Linked DNA regions of Homo sapiens: regions 1, 2 and 3 are each linked to region 4. Evidence: promoter capture Hi-C in 16 types of primary human blood cells and fetal thymus (Javierre and others, 2016). All regions are on one chromosome and are shown on one strand. The core of a region is centred on a gene start or on the middle of the fragment in contact, and the rest is flanking DNA. Distances in the headings are between cores, read along the strand shown.

What was found. Contacts are between HindIII fragments. The CHiCAGO score rates a contact against its expected background, and 5 or more counts as called.
Region 1: a contact is called between the fragment with the promoter of GDPD3 here and the fragment with the promoter of TBC1D10B in region 4, in 17 of 17 cell types (naive CD8 T cells, fetal thymus, activated CD4 T cells and 14 more). The highest score is 15.0, in naive CD8 T cells.
Region 2: a contact is called between a fragment that was not itself captured here and the fragment with the promoter of TBC1D10B in region 4, in 17 of 17 cell types (megakaryocytes, M2 macrophages, erythroblasts and 14 more). The highest score is 21.3, in megakaryocytes.
Region 3: the fragment with the promoter of TBX6 here is called in contact with the fragment with the promoter of TBC1D10B in region 4 in 14 of 17 cell types (naive CD8 T cells, non-activated CD4 T cells, neutrophils and 11 more); the score reaches 13.9 in naive CD8 T cells.

What each region holds. Positions count from the first base shown.
Region 1 is chr16:30,112,192-30,117,598 of GRCh38, reverse strand. GDPD3 (glycerophosphodiester phosphodiesterase domain containing 3) reads left to right here and starts at 4,062. Exons shown (of 10, transcript NM_024307.3): 1 at 4,062-4,259; 2 at 4,535-4,577; 3 at 4,806-4,941; 4 at 5,031-5,076; 5 at 5,175-5,293; 6 at 5,378-5,407. The coding sequence starts at 4,121. MAPK3 (mitogen-activated protein kinase 3) reads left to right here. Exons shown (of 9, transcript NM_002746.3): 6 at 314-445; 7 at 596-705; 8 at 809-963; 9 at 2,891-3,494. The coding sequence ends at 931. RefSeq lists a silencer at 3,797-4,091. The HindIII fragment of the contact is 12,096 bases long and covers 2,025-5,407 here.
Region 2 is chr16:30,631,177-30,636,121 of GRCh38, reverse strand. No RefSeq gene overlaps it. Among named protein-coding and RNA genes, the nearest start is that of PRR14, 17 kb to the left of the region's middle. RefSeq lists enhancers at 754-1,704, 1,705-2,656. The HindIII fragment of the contact is 3,770 bases long and covers 1,796-4,945 here.
Region 3 is chr16:30,089,932-30,095,221 of GRCh38, reverse strand. It overlaps TBX6 (T-box transcription factor 6), which reads left to right and starts at 3,298. Exons shown (of 9, transcript NM_004608.4): 1 at 3,298-3,349; 2 at 3,981-4,146; 3 at 4,230-4,464. The coding sequence starts at 4,029. YPEL3 (yippee like 3) reads left to right here. Exons shown (of 4, transcript NM_031477.5): 2 at 76-119; 3 at 325-433; 4 at 2,423-2,908. The coding sequence ends at 2,512. RefSeq lists enhancers at 2,639-2,828, 3,961-4,834 and a silencer at 3,049-3,308. The HindIII fragment of the contact is 24,011 bases long and covers 1-5,290 here.
Region 4 is chr16:30,367,016-30,371,881 of GRCh38, reverse strand. It overlaps TBC1D10B (TBC1 domain family member 10B), which reads left to right and starts at 1,388. Exons shown (of 9, transcript NM_015527.4): 1 at 1,388-2,654. The coding sequence starts at 1,699. It also overlaps a transcript of MYL11 not described here. RefSeq lists silencers at 1,503-1,792, 1,883-1,962. The HindIII fragment of the contact is 4,560 bases long and covers 1-4,333 here.

The DNA.
Region 1 (5,407 bases), core at 2,813-5,312, 260 kb after region 4:
TCAGGGATACCACCACGTGTGGGGTGCCTCCAGCATCTCATGGTATCTCAATGAGGTATAGATATTATCCCCATTGGATAGATGGGAAAAGCAAGGCTAAGTCCCACACCTGAGGAGGCACCAGACCTAGGATTTGAGCCTCGGTCTGCCTGAACCCAGCCCCCTTGCTCTGCACCACCATGCTAATGACTAGGAGGTGACTGAGGGATTGGCATGGGTTGCTGGGCTGGGGGGTCTTGTTCTTGCCTTGTTGCCTATTCTGTTCCCAGAAAGAAAGAGGTGATCATTTACCAAGTCACCTCCTTATCCACAGGCATCCTGGGCTCCCCATCCCAGGAGGACCTGAATTGTATCATCAACATGAAGGCCCGAAACTACCTACAGTCTCTGCCCTCCAAGACCAAGGTGGCTTGGGCCAAGCTTTTCCCCAAGTCAGACTCCAAAGGTTCGAGAGACATGAGGGTGGGTGTGGGATAAACCTTGGGTGTCGTGGAGGGTGTGTGAGCCCAGCAGCCGCTGGAGGAGACAGGCAAAGCAATGCTTCTCGGAGCTCCTCCAGTCTTCCCTGTGACCCCTGACTCCTGCCCTTCCATAGCCCTTGACCTGCTGGACCGGATGTTAACCTTTAACCCCAATAAACGGATCACAGTGGAGGAAGCGCTGGCTCACCCCTACCTGGAGCAGTACTATGACCCGACGGATGAGGTGGGCCAGTCCCCAGCAGCAGTGGGGCTGGGGGCAGGGGAGCAGGGGGGCACGTAGGCATCCCCCATGCCAGGCCTGAGCCTTGCTGTCTCTACCACCCCAGCCAGTGGCCGAGGAGCCCTTCACCTTCGCCATGGAGCTGGATGACCTACCTAAGGAGCGGCTGAAGGAGCTCATCTTCCAGGAGACAGCACGCTTCCAGCCCGGAGTGCTGGAGGCCCCCTAGCCCAGACAGACATCTCTGCACCCTGGGGCCTGGTGAGTGTCTCCATGGCCCACACATGGACACCCTGATACTAAATATCTATATCTGTATATCTATATCTATATCTATCTGTACATGCCTCCATACAGCAGCAAGCTTACCCCACACCCATGGTCAATGTGTCTGGTGACAACAGAAGTGCCCAGGGGGCTGGGTGTGGTGGCTCATGCCTGGAATCCCAGCACTTTGGGAGACTGAGACTGAGAGGAGTGGATCACCTGAGGGTCAGGAGTTTGAGACCAGCCTGGCCTGCATGGTGAAATCCCATCTATACTAAAAATACAAAAATTAGCCGGGCACAGTGGGTCACTCTGGTAATCCCAGCACTTTGGGAGGCTGAGGCAAGTGGATCACCTGAGGTCAGGAGTCCGAGACCAGCCTGCCTGGCCAACGTGGTGAAACCCTGTCTCTACTAAAAATACAAAAATTAGCCGGGCACGTAGGCATGCGCTTCTAGTCCCAGCTACTCAGGAGGCTGTGGTGGGAGGACTGCTTGAACCTGGGAGGCGGAGGTTGCACCACTGTACTCCAGCCTGGGCAACAGTGAGACTCTCTCAAAAAAAAAAAAAAAAGGGCTGGGCACAGTGGCTCATGCCTGTAATCCCAGCACTTTGGGAGGCCGAGGTGGGTGGATCACAAGGTCAAGAGTTGAGACCAGCCTGGCCAACATGGTGAAACCCGGTCTCTACTGTAAAGAATACAAAAATGAGCTGGGTGTGGTGGCACATGCCTATAATCCCAGCTACTCAGGAGGCTGAGGCAGGAGAATTGCTTGAACCCAGGAGGCAGAGGTTGCAGTGAGCCGAGATCGCACCACTGCACTCCAGCCTGGACTACAGAGCAAGACTCCATCTCAAAAAAAAAAAAAAAAATGCCCAAGGCTGCCCAGACTGGTGGCCCACCGAGTCCTCCAGCCCCAAATGTCTCTGCCTGTCAACACCTTGCATCCTCCAGCCCCACAAGCCATTCTAATCTCCTTCTAGGAACAGAACTGGCAAAGAGGCAAGAGGTCACTGAGGGCCTCTGTCACCCAGGTGAGGACCTGAGCCAAGCTTCAGCTCTGGGTGTGGCAGAAGCAGGTGGGGCCATGATTGCTTTGGGAGGGGCCCAGCAGCGCCCAGCCTGACCCAGATTGCCAGGCCTCCTCACACCTGCTGCCAGATCAGCAGTTCACATAGCTGTGGGGACCCCACTGGCCTGCCCCCACCCACGCTGCCTCCTTGCCTCCTCCGGTCTCTTCCTGTCTTCAGCCAGGTGTGGCCTGATAGAAAGAAGGCATGCGCACCTGGGCTCAAACTCCAGCTGTGCCACTTAGTAAGTGCTGTGTGATATTGGGCAAGGCACCTCACCTCTCGGCGCCTCAGTTTCCGGAGTCAATCTATTTATCTTTTTTTTTGGTTTTGTTTTTTTGAGACAGTGTCTCGCTCTGTCACCCAGGCTGGAATGCAGTGGTGCAATCATAGCTCACTGCAGCCTCAAAACTCCTGGGTGCAAGGGATCCTCCCAGCTAGCTGGACGAGCCATTGCAACCGGCTAATTTTTTTTTTTTTTTTTTGTGGAGCTGGGGTCTTGCTATGTTGCCCAGGCCAGTCTCAAACTCCTGGGCTCAAGCGATCCACCACCTCAGCTTCTCAAAGTGCTGGGATTATAGGCGTGAGCCACTGTGCCCGGCCGAGACAGTTCTAATAATGAAAGCATAAAGCCCTAAGCATTGTTCTAAGAGGTTTACATGTATTAATTCCTTTAATCTTACAGCAGTACCTCAAGCTAGGTACTATTATTATCTCCATTTACAGATAAGGAAACTGAGACCCAGCCTATCCAGCTGTGAGGGTGAAATGAGAGATGTTGAGGTCAGGGCTCCAGTGGGTCTGCCCGGGGGGTGCTAACGACTCCTCTTCTGCCTGCTTCTCTCTTTAGGACCTGCCTCCTGCCTGCCCCTCTCCCGCCAGACTGTTAGAAAATGGACACTGTGCCCAGCCCGGACCTTGGCAGCCCAGGCCGGGGTGGAGCATGGGCCTGGCCACCTCTCTCCTTTGCTGAGGCCTCCAGCTTCAGGCAGGCCAAGGCCTTCTCCTCCCCACCCGCCCTCCCCACGGGGCCTCGGGACCTCAGGTGGCCCCAGTTCAATCTCCCGCTGCTGCTGCTGCGCCCTTACCTTCCCCAGCGTCCCAGTCTCTGGCAGTTCTGGAATGGAAGGGTTCTGGCTGCCCCAACCTGCTGAAGGGCAGAGGTGGAGGGTGGGGGGCGCTGAGTAGGGACTCAGGGCCATGCCTGCCCCCCTCATCTCATTCAAACCCCACCCTAGTTTCCCTGAAGGAACATTCCTTAGTCTCAAGGGCTAGCATCCCTGAGGAGCCAGGCCGGGCCGAATCCCCTCCCTGTCAAAGCTGTCACTTCGCGTGCCCTCGCTGCTTCTGTGTGTGGTGAGCAGAAGTGGAGCTGGGGGGCGTGGAGAGCCCGGCGCCCCTGCCACCTCCCTGACCCGTCTAATATATAAATATAGAGATGTGTCTATGGCTGACCCTGGCTCTGTCTGTGTTCGCGACGCCCCCGCCCTGCCCCGTGCGGCTCTGAGGACAGACTTGACTTGGGCTTTCAGGGGCCTGGTGCCCTTCACTCCCAGCTGCCCAGGGCTGGGGACGGGGCTCTGGAGAGCTCCAGACTCCTAGAAAGAAGGGGGTCAGTTTTCCCCTTAGTCACTGTCCTGTCCTCTCGCTAATGGCTTCCTGTCTAACTGGCTGGGGGTGATTCGGGGTGACTCAGGAGCACCCTACACACCCCTGGATCCTCTGAAATGGCAAGGGGTAGGCATGTTGGATGCGCTGGCTACAAGTACCAGTGAGAGGGAGAGGTCCTGACAGTCCTGGGTGGTTTTTACTCCCCTCATGTAGCCCAGGACGGGGCTGCTGGGGGCTGGGAAGGGCCTGGGGATATGAGAGCCAGGGCTACTTGCCTCACCTCCTGACACTACCCCAGCTTCAGCCGAACCCTGCAGCCTGGCTCCAAGCCAGCCCAGCGGCAGGCTCAGCAGGTCCCAGGGGCGTGGCAGTGGCCAGTAGTAGAGCCGGCCCACACTGGCTAGGCAGGCAGCACAGTCCCGCGGACGGCTGAGCGTGTGGCTGCAGGAGCTTCTGTGGGAGTACGGTCATGAGCCTTTTGCTGTACTATGCCCTCCCTGCCCTGGGCAGCTATGCCATGCTCTCCATCTTCTTCCTGCGCCGGCCTCATCTGCTGCACACGCCCAGGGCTCCCACCTTCCGCATCCGCCTGGGGGCCCACCGAGGAGGTGAGCCGGGTAGGGGTGAGAACAGGTGCCAAAGTGGACAGCACAGAGGGGTAGGTCCAAGGGGGCATGCTAGAAACGGGGCAGGGACCAAGAGAGAAGGAGAGCGAAGTGGCAGGGCAGGGTGTGGACGAGGAAGAAGATGCTGGCGCAGCCTGGGCTGGCTGGGGAGGTGAGGCCAGAGGGAGGATGGAGCCCAGAGAGGGAATGTGGGTGATGAGGTTGGGCCAGGCCCCTAGACCCCAAGCCCCAGAGGCCCACTCCAGTGCCCCCCACAGGATCTGGAGAGCTGCTGGAGAACACCATGGAGGCCATGGAGAAGTGAGTGTATCTGCCCCTGCCCAGGCTGCCATGTGAGGGTGTGCAGGTCGTGGACTGCATCACAGCAAGGGACGCCATTCACTTCCTAGCTGGGTGACTGGCGCCCCCTGGAGGTGGCCTGCACATCCCGCCACGAACTCCGCTCTCACATTCCCGGCCACCTCCCAGCCACCATGCCCCTCATCCCAGTCCCCTGCCCCTGCCCCCCGCTGACCTTCACCCCCACAGCTCCATGGCCCAGCGCTCGGACCTCCTGGAGCTCGACTGTCAGCTGACACGGGACAGAGTGGTGGTGGTGTCACATGATGAGAACCTGTGCCGCCAGTCGGGCCTAAACAGGGATGTGGGCAGCCTGGACTTCGAGGTGGGCCCTGCCCTGACACCCCAACCCCCACCCTGAGAGTCACCATGCCCAATGCGGGCCTCTAGTGACATCCTTCCTGTCCTCCCCAGGACCTGCCCCTCTACAAGGAGAAGCTGGAGGTTTACTTCTCTCCAGGTGAGAGCAAGGGCTTCGAGCCCTGCCTGGGCCATGCCTGCCTTCCTTGGACCTCCGCCTTGGCTTCCCTCTGACCCCTTTTCCCACACCACCCCCAGGCCACTTTGCTCACGGGTCAGACCGGCGCATGGTTCGTCTGGAGGACCTGTTCCAGAGGTTTCCAAGGACACCCATGAGCGTAGAGATCAAAGGGAAGAACGAAGAGCTCATCCGTGAGGTGGTGCTGCAGGCAGGGCTAGGGCGGCCACCGGGGGCGTGAGAGAGGCCTGGCTCTCCCTTCACCTCCTTCTCCTCCTCCCAGATAGCAGGCTTGGTGAGACGCTATGACCGT
Region 2 (4,945 bases), core at 2,431-4,930, 260 kb before region 4:
GCGCACCTGTAATCCCAGCTACACGGGAAGCTGAAGCAGGAGAATCGCTTGAACCTGGGAGGCAGAGGTTGTAGTGAGCTGAGATCGCATCATTGCACTCCAGCCTAGGCAACAAGAGCGAGACTCCATCTCAAAACAAACAAAACAAACAAACAAACAAAATGCTGCTCACCTCAGAGGACTAGATGGAGAATTTTTTTTTTTTTGAGTCGGAGTTTTGTTCTTGTTGCCCAGGCTGGAGTATAATGGTGCGATCTCAGCTCACTGCAACCTCTGCCTCCCGGGTTCAAGCGATTCTCCTGCCTCAGCCTCCCGAGTAAGTGGGATTACAGGCATGCGTCACCACGCCCGGCTAATTTTGTATTTTTAGTAGAGACGGGGTTTCACAATGTTGGTCGGGCTGGTCTTGAACTCCTCACCTCAGGTGATCCGCCCGCCTCAGACTCCCAGAGTGCTGGGATTACAGGTGTGAACCACCGTGCCCTGCCTGGATGGGGATAGTTTTGTAAACTATAGAGTGCCCCCAATTTTTAGTAAAGTTACAAAGAATTTTCACACATTTTGAGTTTTATGGAGCTAGAATGCACATCACAAATACACCTATTTGAAGTGTACAATTCAATTTTTGTGCTAGCATGAAAATTTTAGTGCACTTTCATGACCACAAAAAGAAACTGCATATTCATTAGCATTCACTCCCCATTCCCCCTAGTCCTTCTTTTTTTCCCTGGGCCATAGCGTCTGGCCAATGAAACGGATTTTTGTGCTAGCGCGGCCACAATCAGTACTAGTACATTTTCATCACCCCAGAAAGAACCTCTGTATTTATTAGCATTCACTCCCCTTTCCCCGAGTCCTTCTATAGATTTGTGTATTCTAGATATTTCATATTTTATAAAACACCTTCACACATTTTTACTTGACTTCCAGGATTTTTCTTTTCTCTCTTTTTTTTTTTTGAGACAGAATTCCGCTCTTGTTGCCCAGGCTGGAGTGCAATGGCGCGATCTCGGCTCACCACAACCTCTGCCTCCCGGGTTAAAGCGATTCTCCTGCCTCAGCCTCCAGAGTAGCTGGGATTACAGGCATGCGCCACTACGCCCGGCTAATTTAGTAGAGACGGGGTTTCTCCATGTTGGTCAGGTTGGTCTCGAAGTGTGATCCGCTCAAAGTGCTGGGATTACAGGCGTGAGCCACCGTGCCCAGTCCAGGAGGATTTTTCTTTGTAAGAACCTTTTACAATGATCTGTGGGGGTCCATCCCTCCTATTTTACAGGAGAAAATAGACGGTTATCTAGGCTTTGTGAGTGCCAAGTTCGCACGCGGCTTTCGACTCCGTGGCTACATTGTCGGGCCGGGATTTCGCGATTTCGAGGAGGGATGCTCGGCCTCCTCCTACTAGCGTGGTTGGGGCCTCGGCCAGGGCCGAGTTCCGCGGGGGAGAGCCCCAGGGTTCTGCCACCGCACCGTTGACCTAGAATGCACGTGGGGACAGCCAAAGGTCCAGTCTCCAGTCTCGGAACCCGCGGGCCCCCGAACACGTCTGCCTGCTTGGTCTTCTTTGAACCCAAGTCCCACCGCCCACCAGGATCCTAATGACGCCGGCCTGGGGAACTCCCACGCACGCGCCGTTCAAACGCCCCGCCCTCCGCGGCCCAATCACCGCACACCTTGTTTGGACGTTCGACCAGAAGCGTCCTATCAGCGAGCGCGATCCTAGAGACTGACCAGGATCCGTGACGCCCGTTCGGGTGGGCAGTGCCAGTGCGCTGAAGGGCAAGCCTCAGGGGAAGCTTGTTCCTTATTTAGTAAGATTAGCTTGACTAAGGGAGCGAAGGGCGTCACACTGCTTTTGGAAACAGGTGGTGAGGCTGGCGTCGCCATGTTTTCTAAGGGACTTTCTCAGGATCAGATCCAAGAGTGGTCCTTTAGGGCTTTTTTTTTTTTTTTTTGAGACGTTGTCTCGCCCTGTCACCCAGGCTGGAGTGCAGTGGCGCGATCTCGGCTCAGTGCAACTTCCGTCTCTCGGGTTCAAGCAATTCTCCTGCCTCAGCCTCCAGGGTAACTGCGATTACAGGCTCCCGCCACCACGCCAGGCTAATTTTTGTATTTTAAGTAGAGACGGGATTTCACCATATTGGCCAGGCTGGTCTTGAACCCCTGACTTCCAGTGATCCGCCAACCTCAGCCTCCCAAAGGGGCTTTTAAATGTAAGGGCCGCGCAGGGGCTCCGGGTAGGGCATGAAAGGTTGGGAGGGGCCCTAGCCATTGTCTTTTTTGTTATTGTTAAGGCTGACTTTTTTTAGGCTGTCGCCCATTCTAGAATGCAGCGGCGTGATCTTGGCTCACTGCAGCCTCGACTTCCCTGGCTCAAGTGATCCTCCCACCTCAGCCTCCCGAGTTGCTGGGACCACAGGTGCCACACCGCGCCCGCTTAATTTTTTTTTCTTTATATATATTTTTTTGTAGTGACGGGGTTTCGAACTCCAGGACTCAACGGAGCCTCCCATCTCAGACTCTGGGTGAGATTATAGGCGTTAACCATGACTCCCTACCCAGTATAAACTCAAACACACCAGGCGCAGCAGCTCACGCCTGTAATCCCAGCACTTTGGGAGGTGAAGGCAGGTGGATCACCTGAAGTCAGGAGTTCGAGACCAGCCTGGCCAACATGGCGAAATCCCGTCTCTACTAACAATAACAAAAATTAGCTGGGCGTGGTGGCAGGCGCCTGTAATACCAGAGATTCAGGAGGCTGAGGCAGGAGAATCGCTTGAACCCAGGAGGTGGAGGTTGCAGCCAGCCAAGATCGTGCCATTGCACTCCAGCTGGGGCAACAAGAGTGAAACTCTGTCTCAAAAAAACAAAAACAAAAGCAAATAAAATATTGCTGGGCGCGGTGGCTCACACCTGTAATCCCAGCAGTTTGGGAGGCCAAGGCGGGCGGATCACTTGAGGTCAGGAGTTTGAAACCAGCCTGGCCAACATGGTAAAAACCTTTTCTCTACTAAAAATACAAAAAAATTAGCCCAGCGTGGCAGTGGATGCCTGTAATCCCAGCTACTTGGGAGGCTGAGACAGGAGAATCCCTTGAACTCGGGAGGTGGAGGTTGCAGTGAGCCGAGATCATGCCATTGCACTCCAGCCCGGGCGACAGAGCGAGACTTTGTCTCAAAAAAAATAAAAAAATAAAAAAACCAAACATTTAAAAAATAAAAAACCAAACGAGGCTGGGCACGGTGGCTCATGCCTCTAATCCCAGCACTTTGGGAGGCTCAGGCAGGCAGATCACTTGAGGCCAGGAGTTGGAGACCAGCCTGGCCAACATGGTGAAACCCTGTTTCTACTAAAAATACAAAAATTAGCTAGGCATGGTCATGGGAGCCTCTAATCCCACAGGCTGAGGCAGAAGAATCGCTTGAACCTGGGAGGTGGAAGTTGCAGTGAACTGAAATTGCGCCACTGTACTCCAGCCTAGGCGACAGAGCGAGACTCCATCTCAAAAAATAAAACAAAACAAAACAAAACAAAAATGAAAAAAAAAAAAAATAGCTGGGCATGGTGGCGGGCGCCTGTGGTCCTAGCTCCTCAGGTGGCTGAGGCGGGAGGATCTCTTGAGCCCAGGAGTTTGAGGCTGTAGTGAGCTGTGATTGCACCATTGCACCCCAGCCTAGTGACACAGTGAGACCCCATGTCCATACACAACAAAAGCAAAAGAGGAATACAAAAATAGCTATATATTTTTAGTGTTTGCATTTAAGAAACTGATGCTTTTAACACAGTAATACATTACAATATAATTATTATACTCACAATATTGTTACAAGAGAAAAATAATACATAAGGCAAGATAATGAGGCCTAGTTCCTAATGAGGGTTTTCTTTCAATTCAGTGTCTCTAGGTCCAGAATACTTGCTTGAGGCTAAAATAAAGGTTTAAATTTTAGAGTTTTGGCTGGGTGTGTTGGCTCGGGCCTGTAATCCTTGCACTTTGGGGAGCCAAGATAGGAGAATGGCTGGAGCCCAGGAATTTGAGGTTACAGAGAGCTATGATCATGCCATTGCACTTCAGCCTGGGCAACAGAGTGAAACCCTGGCTCTTAAGAAGGAAAAAAAAGTTCGATAAGTATCCCCAACTTCCTAGTTGAGGACCTGTCAGAGTTGTTCCCCTCTTCCACCAGGGACTTCCTCTGGGTCTCCTACACCTGCTCTGCCTAATTTCTTCTCCCTCAGGATCTAAGAGGTCCAAACCACCTTTTAAATTTTTTTAATTTTTTTTGAGACAGAGTCTTGCTCTGTTGCCCAGGCTGGAATGCAATGGGGCGATCTCGGCTCACTGCAACCTCCGCCTCCCAGGTTCAAGCGATTCTCCTGCGTCAGCCTCCCAAGTAGTTGAGACTATAGGCTCCTGCCACCACACCTAGCTAATTTTTGTATTTTTAGCAGAGACGGGATTTCACCATATTGGCCAGGCTGGTCTCGAACTCCTGACCTTGTGATCTGCCTGCCTCAGCTTCTCAGAGTGCTGGGATTATAGGTGTGAGCTACCATGCCTGGCCAACCACCTTGTCTCTTGGATGGGACAAAAAAAGCTGAGATCTGTGGTATCCGAAGTTGGGGATCCCAAGGAGAAGGAAGGTTCCAAAAGATCCTGTTGAGACAAGAGAACCCTTGTATGCCTCAAGTCAGACTTCTCAGGGCCTATCATTTGCAAAGATCTCCCACTACAGAAACTGTCTGGGGCAATTTCAGTACCTTTTCTAGGCATTTCCATTCTCTTAGATTCCAGGTGGCACCAGGCTTCTTCCAGGCTTGAGGAATATAACAGTGGGTTTCTATTTCCTTCTTCTTTTTTGTTTATTTATTTGTATATCAATGGGTTTCTAAAAGTAACACAACTGGCCAGGCACGGTGGCTCACGCCTGTAATCTCAGCACTTTGGGAG
Region 3 (5,290 bases), core at 2,049-4,548, 280 kb after region 4:
CCTATAGGGGCTGCCTGGCAGCTCCCCACCGGCAGCCCTGACCCCCTCCTCTCTTCCCACCCTCTCACCCTTTAGTCCTTCCAGGGCAGTCAGGGGCGTGCCTACCTCTTCAACTCAGTGTGAGTATCTGGCCTCCCTTCTTGCTTTCCCTGACCTCTGTTGTGACCTGTGACCCCTGGCATCCTGCTGAGACTCCCAGAGTTCCCCGGTGCAGGCAGGAAATTGTGAGCATCATTTCTTGGATGCTGAGGACAGACACAGTGCTTGAGGGGGTGGGCCCTGTGATGGCAGGACCCTCCCTGGGACTACCCCATGTCCCCACAGGGTGAACGTGGGCTGCGGGCCAGCCGAGGAGCGGGTGCTGCTGACCGGCCTCCATGCTGTCGCCGACATCCACTGCGAGAACTGCAAGACCACTTTGGGCTGGAAATATGTGAGTCACCCACCTCTGACCCCAGGCTAGCCTTTGACCTGACCTTCCAACACCTCCTCCTGACAAGCTGTCACCCTATAGCCTTTCAGATTGCATAGGCCGAGCTCACACAAGTCAGCATCCCTGACCACATTCTCTTTATCTTGCACCTTGCAAGGGGTGTAGAACTTTTCTCTTAACCCATCCCTTCTCTCCCAGGCACTTGGATCCCCATTAGAGAGTTAGGATATAATCAGAGTCACCATTTATGGAATGTTTATGTGCCTTGCACTGTTGTGTGCCTGGCGTCTATTATCTCATTCAATCATTGCAGTGATCCTCTAGGTAGAAGCTATTATTATCTCTACAGAAGAAGACAGGGAGGCCCAGAGATGTTAGGTAACTTGCCCAAGATCACCCAACTGGTAAGTAACAGAATAGGGACCAGAATCTGAGTTGGTTGGTTGGTTTTTTTTTTTCACTCCAAACCCTTGGTCACCAGCTTATATTGTCATTTAGAGTATCAGAAAAATTGCCCCAGACTCTGCAACAACATGGAGCTTGGGTTCACCAGCCTCCCTTTCCATAGTCCTCATTGCCACTGCTGCTGTCCAGGGTCTGATTTCACTACCCTGAGTCTCATTTCCTTATCTCTCAGTGGAAGATAAAGCCACTGCCTAGCACCCAGGATTGTTACAGGGATCAGATTAGATGCTCAGGAAGATGCTCTTGGGACACTGCAAGGGACAGGATTCTTCAGGCGTCGCTTGGAACTGTGGTGCCTCTGTGAGGTGGATGTCCCAGGCAGAGCCAGCCAGCCAGCCCTGACCTGAGCTCGCTGCTGACCCTGCCACAGATTGGCTGTGTGTCTCTGGACAGGTGGCTTGGCCACTCTGGACCTCTACCAAATAAAGAGCTGGCCGGCCAGGCACAGTGGCTCACACCTGTAATCCCAGCACTTTGGGAGGCCGAGGCGGGTGGATCACAAGGTCAGGAGATTGAGACCATCCTGGCTAACACGGTGAAACCCCATCTCTACCAAAAATACAAAAAAAAAAAAAAAAAATCAGCTGGGTGTGGTGGCGGGCGCCTCTAGTCCCAGCTACTCATGAGGTTGAGGCAGGAGAATTGCGTGAACCCAGGAGGCAGAGCCTTGCAGTGAGCGGAGACAGAGCGAGACTCCGTTTCAAAAATAATAATAATTAATAAAGAGCTGGCCTAAACAAGAGGTCAAAAACTCAAGTGCCAGGCTGGGTGTGGTGGCTCACGCCTGTAATCCCAGCACTTTTGGGAGTCTGAGGCAGGTGGATCACCTGAGGTCAGGAGTTCGAGAACAGCCTGACTAACATGGTGAAACCCCATCTCTACTAAAAATACAAAAATTAGCTCGGCGTGGTGGTGGGCGCCTGTAATCCCAGCTACTCGGGGCCAAGGCAGCAGAATCACTTGAACCCGGGAAGCGGAGGTTGCAGTGAGCCGATATCGCGCCGTTGCACTTCCAGCCTGGGCGACAGAGCAAGACTCCCTCTCAAAACCAAACAAACAAAAAAACCTCAAGTGCCTGCAAGGCCAAGCAGATACTGTAGATGTGTAAAGGGTAGCATAGATTGGCAGGGTTGGGAGTTGGGGGCAGGCTGGGCAAACTGGAGTGAGCAAGGCCTACTTATATTTTAATACTTTAAAGTTATTTTTATTAAACTGTCTGCTGTCCAAACATAATACATGTTGTAGGCCAAAATGGCCATGAAGCTACCAGTTTGCAAACCCTGAACTGTGAAATCTTTTAGCCACTTCCCTATCTTCTCTGTTGGAGCCATCATTAGTACTTAAAAAAGTACCTTTGAGTCAGGGAGTTCTATTCTACTCTGTGTTTGTGAGAAATACGGCCCTGCCCCTCTGGGCCACAGTTTCCTCATATGTAAAATGGGGCCACTCATGTCCACTTCCCAACCCCAGTGCCTTGTGGTGAGACTGTTGCTCCGGGGATGACGGTCCCGCCCCTCCTTTCAGGAACAGGCCTTTGAGAGCAGCCAGAAGTACAAAGAGGGGAAGTACATCATTGAACTCAACCACATGATCAAAGACAACGGCTGGGACTGACCCCCGCTCCCCCGACGCATGTGGCTCCAGCCCGGCCTGGCCGCCAGGGAGCGCCACTGGCTTCCCGCCACCCGAAGGGAGCTCTGGACCCTCAGAGCCCCTGCAGAGGACGGATCTAGCTCCTGTATATATATTTTATTGCATGCACTGTGACCTTGGGGGGAGAACAGAAGGGGGACGACGCCCCCGCACCTCCTGCGATCTGGCTGGCTTGGATCTCGTTTTTAACCCGTTCCTGCCCCACCTGCCCTATAGTTATGGCCTGTGTTCTGCTCTCCTGGTCCCAGTGCACCGTCTGCTCTGTGAACTCCTCCCACCAGGCCCTTCTTACCCCACGCGTGTCTGTCCCCCTCGTTCTGTAGCGTTTGTACATAATAAAACAATGGAGTGGAGACAGCTCAGGCTCGCGTGTAATCCGGGAAGGGGGAGCTCAAGCGGAGATTTCCGCCCCTATAGACCTGTGCGGTTCTGAGCCCCGGCGGGGCATGGGGTAGGCACAGCCGTCCAAGCTGGGTCTCCGGGAACCGGGACGGTTTCACTGCTGGCGGAGGTCCTGAGCCCACTCTGGCTGCCTACGCCGTGACCTCGGCTGATCTGCGTCTGCTCATCTGCAGCGTTTGGCCGCCGCCTAGGGGCAGCGTCCCAGGGAGGCAACCGCGCCGCCGGCCTCGCAGCCCCCTCGCGGTCGGACTGCAACTCCCAGCGGCCCCCGCGTGGTCCGTCCGGCTCCTTCGGGCGCGCCTCAGCGCTGAGCCTGCCGGGAAGTGTAGTTCCGAGGGTTCCCCAGCGCGGGACCTTCGGGAAACCCTGGCGCGAGGCGTCAGAAGCTGTCGGACTGTGAGCGCCTTCGAACTTTGGAGGCTTGGCTCGGGATGGAGGTTTTTTTAGCATGGGGACCAGGGAGGACTACGGTGCTCGGGACTGGGCTGCGGCCTCCTCGCGGCCCCGAGTGCCCTGTGAAATCAGCTCAGGCCGCGTCCCTCTAGCCTGCACTTTCCCTCTGTTCACGCTGCTTCCCTCCAGGGCCCGGCCTCCAAGTGAAGGGGGGCGGAGGGCGGTCACCTGCCAGAAGGTCTGGGGCGCCAAGGTGTGTCCCGGGACTCTTGGCTCCGTCCAGGTTCCAGGCCCCGCCCCCCAGCTTATCCCTAGCCGGGGCTCCCCACCGTGGGAACGGGGACCAGCTGGCCGGAAGCGCCAAACTGCGTCCCTGTCCGAGCCCTGGGGATCAATCAAGCCGAGGAGTTAATTATGTAATGAGGGGGCAGGGGGTCGAGGCTAATGAAGCCTCCCGGGGTGGGGAGGGAGGGGAGGAGGGGACCGTACCCAGGTATCCGACCCCCTCTCGGACCCCTTCGAGGCCCCAGGGGTCTCCACCCCAGCCCAACTCCAGGGCCCCAAAGAGGGGAGGGGCTGTGATCCTGGATCTGGAAGGGGCTGAGCTGTGAGCTATAAAGGGGGCATCTCGCAGCACCGGGGGCCCTAAGCAGCGAGACCTGAGGCCAGACGGAACTACAACATGTACCATCCACGAGAATTGTACCCGTCCCTGGGGGCCGGCTACCGCCTGGGGCCCGCCCAACCTGGGGCCGACTCCAGCTTCCCACCCGCCCTAGCGGAGGGCTACCGCTACCCCGGTGAGCGTTGGGACCAGCTCCTGGGTAGGAGAATAGGGGGGCTGTGGCCCTCGGCTGGCTCCTCATTCTTCCCCGGCTTCCAGAACTGGACACCCCTAAACTGGATTGCTTCCTCTCCGGGATGGAGGCTGCTCCCCGCACCCTGGCCGCGCACCCACCTCTGCCCCTTCTGCCCCCTGCCATGGGCACTGAGCCGGCCCCATCAGCTCCAGAGGCCCTCCATTCCCTCCCGGGGGTCAGCCTGAGCCTGGAGAACCGGGAGCTATGGAAGGAGTTCAGCTCTGTGGGAACAGAAATGATCATCACCAAAGCTGGGAGGTGAGGGGCTGGCCAGGGTCCGTGTTTCTGGTGGGGGTCTCTTGGGAAAGGCAGAGTCCCTGGGGAGGGGGCTAGGACTGGGTGGTTCCCGAGGGGCTAGAGCTCTGCCTAGGCCTAGAATCTGACTATGGCCTGGGGCAAGGGTTACTCTGTGGCAGGAATCAGGAGTCACTCTGTGACAAGGGTTAAGGGCCAGTCTGTGGAGTCTGTGGCTGAGTTTAGGGACCAATCTATGGCAAGGGTCATGGGTCAGTCTGGGGCAGGGTCAGGAAGTCCCTCTGGGTTATAGGTTAGTGTGTGGCTTAGACCAGCATCCAGACAAGGACAGGGGGTCAAGGGCCAGCCCATTGACCAGCATCAGGGAAATCTGGCCAGGATTCGGGATCAGTATGCAACTCGAATAGGAGTCAGTATATGACTAGGTCCAGGGTCACCCTAGAGGCAGGGACACGGTCAGTGTTTGACCTTAGATGAGGTCTTTAGCTGGGGCAGGAACTCAAGCCCTAGCATGGAAAGTCCTCGGCCCTACTGCAGGCAGGGTATATTTTTTCTAAAGCAAATTCATCTAAGAGCTGCAGATTCTGGTGCTGGAGATCAGGGGAGGAGAGGAGGGTGGGGACAGGAAGCTCCTAGCAAGAAAGTTAGTCACCCCTGCTTCTGCAAATAGGCTTTGAGGGGTAGGAGTCATGGCTCTGTTCCTAACCTGCTGTGTGACAGATCACTTAACCCGTCTGTCCTGTTTCCCCAAATGTAAAATGAGACAAGAAAACCTTCCAGCTCTAAGATTCCGCCCTCTGGCTTCTTTTTTTTTTTTTTTTTTTTTTTG
Region 4 (4,866 bases), core at 139-2,638:
GGTTGGAGCTCATAACGTCAGGTCTTTATGCTTGTGATCTAAGGACAACCTGGAGCGCTCATGAGATTGAGGTCGGGATTCTCAGTGGAACATGAGGAGCACAGAGGGATGTGGCAGTGAGGGGAGAGGGGTTGACGGGACTGGGGCCTTGGATCCCCAAAAGAATAGTAACACACATATGGGGAGTTCATGGTATTAGGGATTCATGGATTTGGGGTTTGAGATCCCCACTAGAAGAAATGGAGGGGGTACTCAGAGGGATAAGGTCTGAGGAACTGGAGCCTGGGTTCTGGGGAGGAGCTCAGATAGATGGGAACTGAGGAGAGGGACTTGGAGGTTGGGATTCCCGCAGGAAATGGGTGAAGCAGAGATATGGGTTGCTTATAGGATCTGGGGGCTCTGGCTATTGCCACCTGGGCCTGGAGTGTTGGGGTTAGTTGGGGGCCGAGATCGGAGAATTATAGAGTAAAGGATGAGAGTACTGGGTCAGGGCACTGGATCTGTGGTGGGGCTCAGGGTCCCACAGACCACCAGAGTGTGGGGCTCAGGAGCTGAACGAAGAATAGGGGACCGGAAAGGACTCGAGAGGGGGCAGCGCGGCACTCATTGGTTGAGGGCTGCACTAATGCCCCCGCCCCTTCTCCGTGCTGTCCCCAGCTGTCACCCTCCCATAAGGCTTGTCTCCGGTTGTCACCGACTATCCCTGGGCTGGCACCGCCTGCTGGCAGCATCTTTGCCCTTTGGATGCTCCCATTGGCTGAGACAGCTATCTATTTTCCTGTCCTGTGGCCAAAGTGGGAGAACACGATCATTGGCTGACGGGGCGAATTAATCTCTAGCTTGCCCCGCCTCCTCCCAGCTGTCATTCCTTACTGACCATTTTGGGAGACCTAAAGAATTCTTCAGCTCTTCCTATTGACTGCGGATGCTGTCTGTCACCGCCTAAATAGACATCACTGCCTGTCAATTTGACCTCCACCTGCTCCCCTTTTCATTGGCTCCCTTTTTACCATTCCTATTGGTTAAGAAGCCTCCAGGCCCCACCTCTTACTCGCACAGCCCTGCCTCCTCCTCCGCCCTTCCGCGGTCATTCACCCTTCAGTCATATTCATTGGCCAGGAGGTTCAGACCCCTGCGTTTCTATTGGTTATTTCTTTCGTCCCATCGCCCCCTGCCTTTCCTCGTCCTCTGATTGGTCTTACAGCCCTAGCTTTCTCCGTTTCCTCTTTCCAGATGACCCACCCCTTTTTCGCCTCCAGCCCCGCCCACGATTCCAACGATTGGCAGAAGCCCAGTTCTCTCTCTCCCACTATTCGTCCAAATCCTCTGACTAGGCGGGAGAAAAAAGGAGCGCGATGAGCCAGTCCGCGCGCAGGCGTGGAACGCCGAGACGCTGGCGCGGAGCCGGCTCTGCGGCGTGTGCGCAGGCGCGAGGTCGGCGGCTCGCCCCCAAGCAGGAGGGAGGGGGCGGTGGCGAGAGCGCGCGAGGGGGTGAGAGGGCTCGAGAGAGACCCCGGCGCGCGGCGCCCCCCGACCCCTGCCCCGCCTCTGCGCGCCCAGCGGCCGCTCCGCCCCCGGCGCGCGCCGAGCCGCGCCCTTCGCCCTCTCCCCTTTCTCGGCTGGCCTCGCCGGGAGGCCCGAGGGGCGGCGCCTTCTGCGGCCTCCCCGGCGGGGGGATGTGAGGGGCGGCCCGCGGCCATGGAGACGGGCACGGCGCCCCTGGTGGCCCCGCCGCGCCGTCATGGCGCCCCCGCGGCCCCCTCGCCGCCGCCCCGGGGTTCCCGGGCCGGGCCCGTCGTGGTGGTGGCTCCGGGACCTCCAGTGACTACGGCCACTTCGGCCCCCGTCACCCTGGTGGCCCCCGGGGAGGCGCGGCCCGCCTGGGTCCCGGGGTCGGCCGAGACCTCTGCTCCGGCCCCGGCCCCAGCCCCGGCCCCAGCCCCGGCTGTCACGGGCAGCACGGTGGTGGTGCTGACCCTGGAGGCCTCGCCCGAAGCCCCAAAGCCGCAGCTCCCCTCCGGCCCGGAATCCCCAGAGCCCGCGGCAGTGGCTGGAGTTGAGACATCGAGGGCTCTGGCCGCAGGGGCAGACTCGCCGAAGACAGAGGAGGCTCGACCCTCACCCGCCCCAGGACCAGGGACCCCCACCGGGACCCCTACCAGGACCCCTTCCAGAACGGCTCCTGGTGCCCTGACCGCCAAACCCCCGCTTGCCCCCAAGCCGGGAACCACAGTGGCCTCAGGAGTGACTGCACGGAGTGCATCAGGACAAGTGACAGGTGGGCATGGAGCTGCCGCAGCAACATCAGCATCAGCAGGACAGGCTCCTGAGGACCCCTCAGGCCCTGGCACAGGCCCCTCTGGGACTTGTGAGGCTCCGGTAGCTGTCGTGACCGTGACCCCAGCTCCGGAGCCTGCTGAAAACTCTCAAGACCTGGGCTCCACGTCCAGCCTGGGACCTGGCATCTCTGGGCCTCGAGGGCAGGCCCCGGACACGCTGAGTTACTTGGACTCCGTGAGCCTCATGTCTGGGACCTTGGAGTCCTTGGCGGATGATGTGAGCTCCATGGGCTCAGATTCAGAGATAAACGGGCTGGCCCTGCGCAAGACGGACAAGTATGGCTTCCTTGGGGGCAGCCAGTACTCGGGCAGCCTGTGAGTACCAGTGGGCACCCAGCGGGACCGCCTCGGGGAAGCAAAGGTTGGGGGAGGGCGAAACGAAAACGATACACTTTGCCCAGACTCTGGCAGCCCAGCCTCCTCTGAGGATCCACGGGGTGATCAGCGCGAGCTGCCGTGTCTTGAGCATCCTGAGGTGCCTGTGACATTGGCATGTTAGTGGAGTTTCAGACCAGGGGTCAAGAGGTCTGGGTTTAAGCCTTGCCTTTGATGGGTTGTGTGCCCTTGAGCTAGTGGCTTCCCCATTTCCGTGCCTCAGTTTTTTCCTCTATAAAGTGGATTGAATGAGATGATACCTGAGGTCATCCCTGCTCTTTGATGGGGAACTCCAGCTACAGGCCGGATATTCTGGAGGGTTGGTTGGGCGAGGGTTCTGGTAGAGACCCTTGGTCCCTTAGGGTGGATAGCCTGGGAGGGGTGCAGGCATCTCCCTTCCCCCATAGCCCTAGGTCCCAGGGATGGAGTAGAGAGGTGGGGAAGTCTGGCTGATGGAAGGGAGACTGTGCAGTCAGGATCCCGCTGTGAAACAGGGCAGTCTTGTATCTGCACTGAAGTAAAGGGTGGGAGAGGCCTCTTCCCCATTTCCTCATCTCCCCAGCCGGGCTGACTCTTTCCTAGTTCTCTCCGGGGCCTGAGTCACTCCCGAGGTAGGGGGTGATTGCCTCTGACTTCTTCCTTCCCCCTCTCTGGATCCTGCCCGTTGTTCCTGTGCCCCTTTGACCTGCTGGGCCAGTCAGCCTACAGCATCTCCTGGGCCCCCAGGTGTCAGGCCCCAGGTGCTAAGGATAAAATAGTCCTTTCAAGGAGCCAATCATCTGGAGAGAAAGAAAAGTACTTAAACAGTTGGTTTCAATAGAAGACCTCGGGTTTAGCCTAGAGATCTCCAGAGGGTTTCCTGAGGCACCTAGAGCAGGGAGTCAGCTGAACCTGCTCTGAATCGTGGAGAGTAAGTAGGATTGATTTAGTCTTGGCTATGTGTGCAGGGATCGGGGGAAGCCCTGTGGGAGAGTTTTCCAGGCAGGGTTCATGAGCCAACCAAAATCAGAAAGCCTTTGATTGGGTACCAACATTCAGGGTCTTACATGGGAAAGCAACTGAGGTTTGACCCTGGTGCTTTCTAGGCACAAGGACTCGGTTTATAGATGAAGAAACAATTAGTGCAGTTGAGTGAATTGTCCCCCTCAAATAATCTGGATCTGTGTGACCAGTGGCTCTCTCCTCAATAGCAGGCTGTCCTGAGGAACTCGGGCTGAACTTAGTTTGGGGGAGTCCCTCTTGTGTGCCAGGCACTATGCCGGGTGCTGTTTCTTTGCTTTGTAGCTTTGTCCCTGTAAGATCAGCTTCAATGCCAGAGAACTCTACCTCTTGGGCAAGACTGACTGTAATCCATGTTACTTTCGCAGCGTTCAGTGGCTCGCTGCTGTCCACAGGATGAAGTTCAGGCTCTTTGGCCTGCGCATAGCCTCTCTGGTCACCTTTGCCACCATTCCTCACCGGGTGCTTTGCGCTGTGGTCCTGCTGAACTAGTTGTAGTCCTTTCCCCTTCATATTCAGGCTGTGCACCTGCCAAGGGTGCTCTTCTCCCCTTTCTTTGCCTGCTAAGTTCTACTCATTTCTTCATGGCTTACCTCAGATGTCCCCTCCTCCAGGAAGCTTCCCTGATACCCACTGCCCCCACTCCAATTAGATGTGTCTTTGGTGCATCTTTGTCATTGCATTTCCCATGCTGTATTACAGTTATCGCTCCTCTTAGGCTGTAACCTTCTTGAGGGCCAGAAGGTATCTTACTCTTCCCAGCCCTTGGTAGAGTTTGTAACCGACTTATGATAGAAATTAATGAGAGATGGTCTCTCTGTTTAAGGAGCTTCTAGAACAAAGGAAACTAACATTTAACGAGCCCCTTCTATTTAACAGATGTTTATATGCAGTTTCTCAATAGTCTTCTCATAACTTTGTGATGTAGGTGGTGGTGGTGTTTTTTTTGTTTTGTTTTGTTTTGTTTTGTTTTTGAGACGGAGTTTTGCTCTTGTTGCCCAGGCTGGAGTGCAATGGTGCGATCTTGGCTCACTGCAACCTCCGCCTCCCAGGTTCAAGCAATTCTCCTGCCTCAGCCTCCCGAGTATCGGATTGAAGACATGTGCCACCACACCCGGCTGAGTTTGCATTTTTAGTAGAGACAGGGTTTCAC